2 separate regions of the Homo sapiens genome follow, and region 2 is linked to region 1. The links are contacts of gene promoters, found by promoter capture Hi-C in blood cells and fetal thymus (Javierre and others, 2016). All regions are on one chromosome and are shown on one strand. The core of a region is centred on a gene start or on the middle of the fragment in contact, and the rest is flanking DNA. Distances in the headings are between cores, read along the strand shown. Region 1 holds the start of SLFN13 (schlafen family member 13). Region 2 has its middle 53 kb from the start of SLFN11.

Region 1 (3,209 bases), core at 710-3,209:
TGGTATCATTTTCCTTCAATATGAAGAACTTTGTTAGGCCGGGCGCAGTGGCTCATGCCTGTAATCCTAGCACTTTGGGAGGTCGAGGCGGGTGGATCACCTGAGGTCAGGAGTTTGAGATCAGCCTGGCCAACATGGTGAATCCCCCGTCTCTACTAAAAATGCAAAAATTAGCAGGGCCTGGTAGCGGGCGCCTGTAATCCTAGCTACTCGGGAGGCTGAGGAAGGAGAATCGCTTGAACCTGGGAGGCGGAGGTTGCAGTGAGCTGAGATCGCGCCATTGCACTCCAGCCTGGGCAACAAGAGCGAGACTCCATCTGAGAAACAAACAAACAAACAAACAAAAAACAAAAAAACACGTTAATAGTTTTTGTAAAGATCTGCTGGTGACAAATTTCCTAAGATTTTTTTTTTTTTTTTGGTCTGAATACGTCGTTATTTTGCCTCCATTTTGGAGGACTTGTTTTGTTTTGTTTTTGGTGGTTATAGAATTCTAGATTGACAGCCTTTTTTTTTTTTCCAGCGCTTTACAGATGTATAGTTCTGGATTCAGTACAGGTTTGCACAATCTATAAACCGCATTTTAAAGAAAAATGAAAAAACTGGAATATGATTATATGAAGATTTACTGAAATGGAAAGGTGGAAGTCATTGAAAAAAGCAGATTAAGAAGAGTACATACAGTGTGACTTTGTATTAATAAAAAAGTATTACATATATGTTTGTGTAATATATATGTATGATCCGTAAAGATATGTACAATAGGGTGTTAATAGTGGTCAGTGGTAATCTCTGGGGCGAAGGGGGGGTGGTATTGGAGTACGTTTTATTTTCTCACTTTAGCCTCCACTGGAGCGTATATTAATCACCCCGGTGTTAACCGCCGCTCCCACCCTTGGGCCAGTCCGCGTCAGTGAGAACTTGGCCGATGCGCGGTGCTTGGTCAACCCCGGTAACCGTCACACTGCTCGTGTTACAAGAAAACCAGCCAGGGTTCTGCTTTTCTGCTCTGCCGCAGCCTTTAACACCTGCCAGGGTTCTGTCCGAGTGTATGGGTTTCGTAGTCCTCCTCTCCAAGGCGTTGACTGAGCACAGAGCACCGGCCGCCGCCACATCCCACTCTGGCGCGGGGTCTGCGGAGCCACAAATCCAGCCAGGAACCGAGTGCCGCCCGATCCGAGCATCCGTCGCATTTTGACCTGGGGTTCCCGGGTCTCAAGGCCCACTTTCTGGGGCAGGCAGTGGGGAGAGAAGCCCAAGCTGGGGTATGGGCAGTTGCAGTGCGGTGGAAGGGGAAAGCTCGGGCGAGAGCTTGGCTGGACCCTCAGAGGAGGGGTCCGGGGAAGGCGGGACCGCAGGCTCCGGGAAAGGAGAGAGAGATAGGGACGGAGGAGGGGCGGAGGGGGAGTAAGAAAGAACTAAGAACCACTCGAAAGCAATCAGAAAACTTGGCGTTTCCAGACATTTTTTTTTTTTTTTGTAGGGGGAACAGGCTCTCACTCTGTCGCCCAAGCTGGAGTGCAGTGGTGCGATCTCGACTCACTTTACCCTGGACTTCCTCGGGCTCAAGTGATCCTCCAGCCTCAGCCTCCCGGGCATCTGAGACTACATTTGAGTCTACAGGCGCGCGCCACTAAGCCTGAGTAATTTTGTTGTTGTTGTTGTTGTTGTTGTTGTTGTACAGACGGGGGTCCCACTGTGCTGTCCAGGCTGGTCTCGAACTTCTTGGCTCAAGCGATGAACCCGCTTAGGCCTCCCAAAGTGCTGGGATTTCATAGGCGCGAGCCTCCCGCCAGGCCTTCTAGACAGCGTGGCAAAGTGTTCCCGGGCTTTGTAGACACTCCCATTGGCGCGTCCATGCCCTGCCTGGGACCCATTGGTTCGTTCATCCCCTGTGTGGGACCTGCCCAGGTAGGCGCCAACCATTGGTTATAAGAACCTGACCTTGGCGCCTCCAGGGAAACGCGGAGTGTCCTGGAGCTTGACGCGCTGGAGCTTGAGAGGTAAGAGAGGGTCCCTGCTCCTACGGGGACTGCGGAGCTCCCGTTTGTACCCACGCCCTAGGGTCTAGTCCGGCACGACCCTGGACTGGCGTTGACTCGGATGGGGAGCAAGCTAGGAGAGCAACCCCCGCCCCCCAGCTCCGGCCAGCCGGTGGAGTCGGGGTATTTGCGTGCTTCTCCCCTGCCTTTGGGGTTCGGCTAGTTTGCTGAGCAAATTCCCTAAAAGGCTATGAGGACTTGATCGCGGCGCGGGTGGAGGCGGGGCGGTGGGGAGGGACGGTGCGGAGAGCTAAAGGGGTTGGAAGGTGTCGCCGGCGGCTTGGCGGGCTATCTGTGTTCCTGTTCCGGCTGCAAAACAGAAAGCCCCTGCCCAGCGAGCAGCGGTTTCCGCGGGGGCGGAACAAACAGGCAGAGCCAAGTGCGTCCTGGAGGCTTCCCCCGTTGCGAAGGTTGGGACTCTTGTTTCAGGGTTCTTGGCATTGACTCACTAACCACTGTAAATTATTGTTCTTAATCTAAGAGTTAAAAAGCAGAATTAGGCCGGGTGTGGTGGCTCATGCCTGTAGCTTCAGCACTTTGAAAGGCCAAGTGGGAGGATTACTTGAGCCCAGGATTTCGAGACCAGCCTGGGCAATGTAGGGAGACCCTATCGCTATGAATAATAATAATAATAATAATATAATACTAATATTAATAAATTAACCGGGCCTGGTGGCGCGCACCTGTGGTTCCAGCTTCTCCGGAGGCTGAGGCAAAAATCGCCTGAGCCTGTGATGGCGCCACTGCCCTCCAGCCTGGACAACACAGGAAGACATTGTATCAAAACAAAAACAAAACAAAACAAAACAAAACAACAAAACAGAATTAGAATTGCCATTACCCTGTACCCATTATCCTGATTACCCTGCAATCTAGAAAGGGGAGAAATGAGAAAAATGTCTCCCTCCCAACGTCTGTAAAATACAGAGCTGCTATCTGAGAAGGACAAAGAGCTCTGTGTTTTATTTTCCCAAGAGGGAGCCTCTGTCGCAGCTGTTTCCTTCTGTTTCTGCCTGAGACTAGCCAGTCCCCACCAGTTTTCCTCAGTGGGGTGGGGGGCTTGGGAGTGGATGGGAGGATTTGTGTTGTTCTGATTTTACCTACAGTATACCTGTGTAGGAGGCGAAACTGTTTCCATCAATTTCCACAGAGAAGCAAGGGCAAGAA
Region 2 (6,048 bases), core at 2,102-4,601, 130 kb after region 1:
TACAGGTGTGTGCCACCATGCCCGGCTATTTTTTGTATTTTTTTTTTTTAGTAGAGACGGGGTTTCACCATGTTGGCCAGGCTGCTCTTGAACTCCTCACCTTGTGATCCACCCACCTTGCCCTCCCAAAGTTCTGGGATTACAGGCATGAGCCACCACGCCTGGCCAACCTCATTCTTCTTTGGCACTGGACAAAAATTGGGGACCCACCAAGTGCAGGTACCCAAAAGGGCTGTCACACTGGCCCTTTGCTCTCACTGGCAGAGGGCAGCAGCCCCATTGATGAGTCAAAGGGCCCACTGAGCTGATAACACAGTGCTATCTGTGAAAGGTGGAGCTAAGAGAGCACTGTAACATTCCCTCTGGGGCCTTGGGGTTGCAGGCACCCCTACCTGGACTCTGCCATGGGGCCTTCATGGTGTTTGCTCCTGCCAGCACCAAAGCAGCCAGCCAGTTCCTGCACTCACTTGCTTACATGCTCTCTTCCACAAGGGATGGAATGCAGTGGGTCCAAGCAAATGGAATTTGCTTCTGTCAGTGCTGAGGCAGCCAGCTGGTTCCTGCACTTGTTCAATTGAGTGCTTCCTCCTGCAAGGGGTTGAGCACAGTGGACTGAGTATACAAGGCACTCCAGTCACAAGTCCCACAAAGGCATCAAGAAAATATCCTGCATCAAAAACATGTTGTTATGAACCATATGCAATCAAATACATTGCTGTGAATTAAGAATATTTACAAATAGTTTACAAATTCTGGAGAAATTAGGCAGAGAGAAAAATATGACTCAAATTCTGTTTACAAACGTATATTTACTTAATACACTTAAAATATGTTTCAAGTTTATAAATAGCTCAAAAGAAAACAATTCTTCAGACTCCAAAAAACAAAACAAAAAGAATCAGCAATATTTCAAACAAAAAAAGCCATAAAAATTATTTCAGTCCTCCATTAGTTCTGTCAATGCAATCAACTCTCACTCTGCTTCATATTGCATTAGCAATCTTTATGAACATATCAGCCTTTCAATAAGTGCAGTGAAAGTTTTCTCTCTGATCTAATGGTACAATCTGCAAAGTTATCAGAAACCTGCATTCAAGAGTCCTTTTAATGAACTCCTCCAAAGAAACAAGACTTGGACTGTAGCTGATTATTAGTAACGTTTTTTGGAAGGATCACAGCAAGACAACATTTGTGGATGAAAAAAGTCTTAGGATAGCCGTAGTCAAAGACACAGTTGACAAGGAAATTTGGTTATTTCTGTGGCATGCAATTTAAAATAATAATCATAATTATTACTGATGATGTTACCAGTGGAGGGTGTCCAGGTTCTTGGTGTTTTGAACAAATAATTGGACAAAATGCACAAAGCAATGAAAGAAAAGCACAGATTTATTTAAATGAAACTACACTCCACAGAATGGGAGTGGGCTGAAGCAAGTGGCTCAAGAGCAGGGGTTACAGAATTTTCTGGAGTTTAAATACCCTCAAGAGGTTTCCCATTGGTTATTTGCTTTACACCCTATGTAAATGAAATAATGGCCCATAACCAGTCTGAATGGTTGTGGAAGGTGACCAATCAGAGTCTGAAGTAAAGTTACAAAGTTATACATGAAGACTTGGCCAATCAGAGGTACTTTCATTTTTCATCTGCAATGCAGAAAAGATGGGGAGAGTTACAAAGAAAGTAGCCTCTGATCCCTTTACTACTTGGGTGTGGAGAGGTGGGGTTAGGTTCTCTGCCTCCAGGCCCAGTTCTCCTGTGCATTTCCCCTCTGAGAGATGTGATCCCCATAAATCTTTATGGGAGGCAGGGGGACTGAGGGTCTTTCTTCTGTAACTGCTTCATGCTGACTTGGAGCACCGTCCCTACCTATTGAGGATTATAGAACTCTCATCCTGCTCTGTCTGGTGGGGAGAGGGTAGCTTCTTGATGGCCAGTGGTGTCTTCACCTGGAACTGACTGGAAACCTCATCACATGATCATCGAAAGCTTGATTGTCTCTAGGGAAAAGGAAATGAATTAAAGACTTAAATCTAAGACCTGAAACCATTAAAATTCTAGATGATAACACCAGAAAAACACTTCTGGACATTGGCTTAGGCAAAGAGTTTATAACCAAGAACACAAAAGCAAATGCAACAAAAACAAAAATAAATAGATCAGACCTAATTAAACTAAAACCTCCTGCACAGCAAAAGAAATAATCAGCAGAGTAAACAGACAACCCACAGAGTGGGAGAAAATATTTTCAAACTATGCATCTGACAAGACTAATATCCTGAATCTACAAGGAACTCAAACAAATCAGCAAGAAAAAAACAAAGAATCCCATCAAAAAGTGGACAAAGGATATGAATAGACAATTCTCAAAAGAGGATATACGAATGGCCAACAAACATATGAAAATATGCTCAACATCACTAATGGACAGGGAAATGCAAATTAAGACCACAACAAGATGACCTTACACCTGCAAGAATGGCCATAATTAAAAATAAAAAATTAACAGATGTTGGCATGCATGTGGTGAAAAGGAAATACTTTTACACTCCTGCTGGAAATGTAATATTATCATATTAACTGTAGGTTTGTCACATATAGCCTTTATTATGTCTAGGTATGTTTCTTCTATCCCAATTTGTTGAGAGTTTTTATCATGAAGGAATGTTGAATTTTATTGAATGCCTTTTCAGCATCTCTTGAAATGATCACATGGTTTTTGTCTTTGATCCTGTTGACATGATGTATCATGTTTATTGATTTGCATATGTTGAATTCCTGGGCTCAAGCAATCCTCCCATCTTGGCCTCCCAAAGTGCTGGGCATGAGCCACTGTGCCTGGCTTTATGTATCTTTTCAAAAAAAAAAAAAAAAAACAGGCCTGGCACGGTGGCTCACGCCTCTAATCCCAGCACTTTGGAAGGCCGAGGTGGGTGGATCACAAGGTCAGGAGATCGAGACCATCCTGGCTAACACAGTAAAACGCCATCTCTACTAAAAATACAAAAAATTAGCAAGGCGTGGTGGCGGGTGCCTGTAGTCCCAGCTTCTCAGGAGGCTGAGGCAGGAGAATGGTGTGAACCCAGGAGGTAGAGCTTGCAGTGAGCCGAGATCGCGCCACTGCACTCCAGCCTGGGTGACAGAGCGAGACTCCATCTCAAAAATAAATGAATAAATAAATAAATAAATAAATAAACCAACTGTTCCTTTTGTTATCTTTTTTATTTCTTTTTTTTTAAAGTCTCAATTTTATTTATTTCTTCTCTGATGTTTATTATTTATTGGTTTTTGCCTCCAATTCCTGACTCACAGACAGCATCTCTGGACCTGCCTGGGGAAACTTGCTGCCCTGAAGGAAAGGATACAAACCTGGCTGCCATTGCCACCCGCTGATTGTATAGTCTTAGAGCCTTGAGTGATCATAGATGGTAGCCAGATTGTAGTTATTGTGGGCATTGGGCAAGACCCAGTGCTATGCTGGCTGCAGGTATGATCCAGCACAGTCTCAGTGGTGGTGGCCTCAGGGGTGCTTGTATCACCACACCCCCAGTTCCAGGTGGCTCACCACAGACAGAAAGACTCCATTTATTTAAGAGAAAGTAAGGGAAAAGGACAAGAGTCTCTGCTTGGTAATCTACAGACTTTTTCCAGACCTTATCCAAGACCACCAAGGTGGTACCTCTACAAGTCTACAAAAGCCACAGCATTGTTGGGCTTGGGGCCCAAGTCCCTTTGAATACCTGGAAATGCTTAACAAGAATGGGAACAAATAAGCCCAAACTATGAAGACTACAATAAATACCTCTCTTCAATTCCCAGACACTGATGAACATCCACAAGCATCAAGATCATCCAGGAAAACATGACCACACCAAACAACTAAATAAGTCACCAGGGACCAATCCTGGAGAAACAGATATATGTGGTTAATATAGTTTGGACATATGTCCCTACCCAAATCTCATGAAATGTAATCCCCAATGTTGGAGGTAGGGCCTGGTTGCTGGTGATTGGATCATGGGAGCAGATTTCTCATGAATGACAGCACCATCCCTGTTGGTACTGTCCTTGTGATAGTGAGTTTTTGTGTGGAAGCAGGTTTGGAACTGGGTAACAGGCAGGTATTGGAAGAGCTTTGAGGGTTCAGAAGAAGACAAGAAGATGAGGGAAAATTTGGAGGCTCTTAGATATTGGTTAAATGGTTTTGACTGAAATGCAGATAGTGATATGGACAATGAACTCCAGGCTGAGGAGTTCTCAAATGGAAATAAGGAACTTATTGGGAAATGGATTCCCTGAACTTCAAGAGAGACATGCTGGGCTTATTAGGCTTATTTGTAATGTTAGAATTATACAGGAAGTGGCTGGGCACAGTGGCTCACACCAGTAATCCGAGCACTTTGGGAGGCCAAGGCGGGCAGATCACCTGAGGTTGGGAGTTCGAGACCAGCCTGACAAATATGGAGAAACCCCATCTCTAGTAAAAATACAAGATTAGCCAGTGTGGTGGCACATGCCTGTAATCCCAGCTACTCAGGAGGCTGAGACAGGAGGATTGTTTGAACTCAGGAGGCAGAGGTTGCAGTGAGCTGAGAACGTGCCATTGCACTCCAGCCTGGGCAACAAGAGTGAAACTCTGTCTCAAAAAAAAAAAAAAAAAAAAAAGAATTATACCGGAAGCATTGTCAAATCTGAGGTGGTGTTAAGCTTCCTTTGGGTTATATTTATATAAATGTGTCGTTAATATGTGTTCCAGGATTATATGAAATTCCTAAAATTCTAATGTGTCTTAATATATGTTGTCAGTAATGTATGATTATTATGTTAAAATAATAAATAACCTAATTTCCTGGTCAACTGTGTCTTTATGTCTGTCTTAAGACTTTTGTCATCCACAATTGATGTTTGGCTTTGATCCTTCTCAAAAAAAAAAGTGAGTTATAATCAGCTACAGTTCAAGAATTACTTCTTTGGAGGGGTTCATGAAAAGAACTCTTAAATGCAAGTTTCTGATAACTTTGGAGATCGTGCCATTGGATTAGAGAGAAAACTTCCAGGGCACCAATTCAAAGGCTGACGTGCTTGTAAAGACTGCCAACCCAATATGAGGTAGAGTAGGAGTAGGAACAGGAGTTAGCAGGACTGAAACTTCCCTATCCTATTACCAGTGCTTATACAAGGATTTTATGGAAGGCTTGGATGAAGTTGAAAGCATTCCTCCTGAGAACTGGAACAAAACAATGATGCCTATTGTCTCCATTTCTATTCAACATAGTACTCAAAATCTATGACAAGAGGACAAATAAGGGGAAACAGAAAAACAAGAGAAAGAAATAAAGGGCATCCAAATCTGTAAAGAGGAAATCAAACTGTCACTGTTTACTGATGATATGATTGTATACCTAGAAAACCCTAAAGACTCATTTAGAAGCTCCTAGATCTTATAAATGAATTCAGTAAAGTTTCAGGATACAAAGTCAATGTATGTAAATCTGTAGCACTGCTGCACACCAAGCTGAGAATCAAATCAAGAACTCAACCCCCTTTAAAACAGTTGCAAAAAAAAAAAAAAAGTTAAGTACTTAGGAATATACCTAACCAAAGAGGTGAAAGATCTCTACAAGGAAAACTATAAAACACTGCTGAAAGTAATCATCGATGATGCAAACAAACGGAAACACATTCCATGCTCATGGATGGGTATCATTCAATATTATGAAAATGATTATGTTGCCTAAAGCAATCTACAGATTCAATGCAATTCTCATCAAAATACCATCATTGTCCTTCACAGAACTAGAAAAAACAATCCTAAAATTCATATGAAATCAAAAAAGAGCACGCATAGCCAAAGCAAGACTAAGCAAGAAGAACAAATCTGGAGGCAACACATTACCCGACTTCAAACTATACTGGTATAAAAATAGGAACATAGACCAATGGAACAGAATAGAGAACCCAGATACTTACAGCCAACCCAGCTTTGACAAAGCAAACAAAACACGAAGTAGGGAAAGGACACCCTATTCAAGAGATGGTGCCGCGAT

What was found. The method cuts DNA at HindIII sites, captures the fragments that hold promoters and counts their contacts. A CHiCAGO score of 5 or more calls a contact.
Region 2: a contact is called between a fragment that was not itself captured here and the fragment with the promoter of SLFN13 in region 1, in 6 of 17 cell types (non-activated CD4 T cells, naive CD4 T cells, total CD8 T cells and 3 more). The highest score is 8.5, in non-activated CD4 T cells.

The regions. Positions count from the first base shown.
Region 1 is chr17:35,447,516-35,450,724 of GRCh38, reverse strand. It overlaps SLFN13 (schlafen family member 13), which reads left to right and starts at 1,959. Exons shown (of 6, transcript NM_144682.6): 1 at 1,959-2,003. RefSeq lists enhancers at 644-1,143, 1,044-1,253, 1,144-1,645, 2,524-2,683 and a silencer at 1,874-1,953. The HindIII fragment of the contact is 16,320 bases long and covers 1-3,209 here.
Region 2 is chr17:35,317,688-35,323,735 of GRCh38, reverse strand. No RefSeq gene overlaps it. Among named protein-coding and RNA genes, the nearest start is that of SLFN11, 53 kb to the left of the region's middle. The HindIII fragment of the contact is 2,718 bases long and covers 1,993-4,710 here.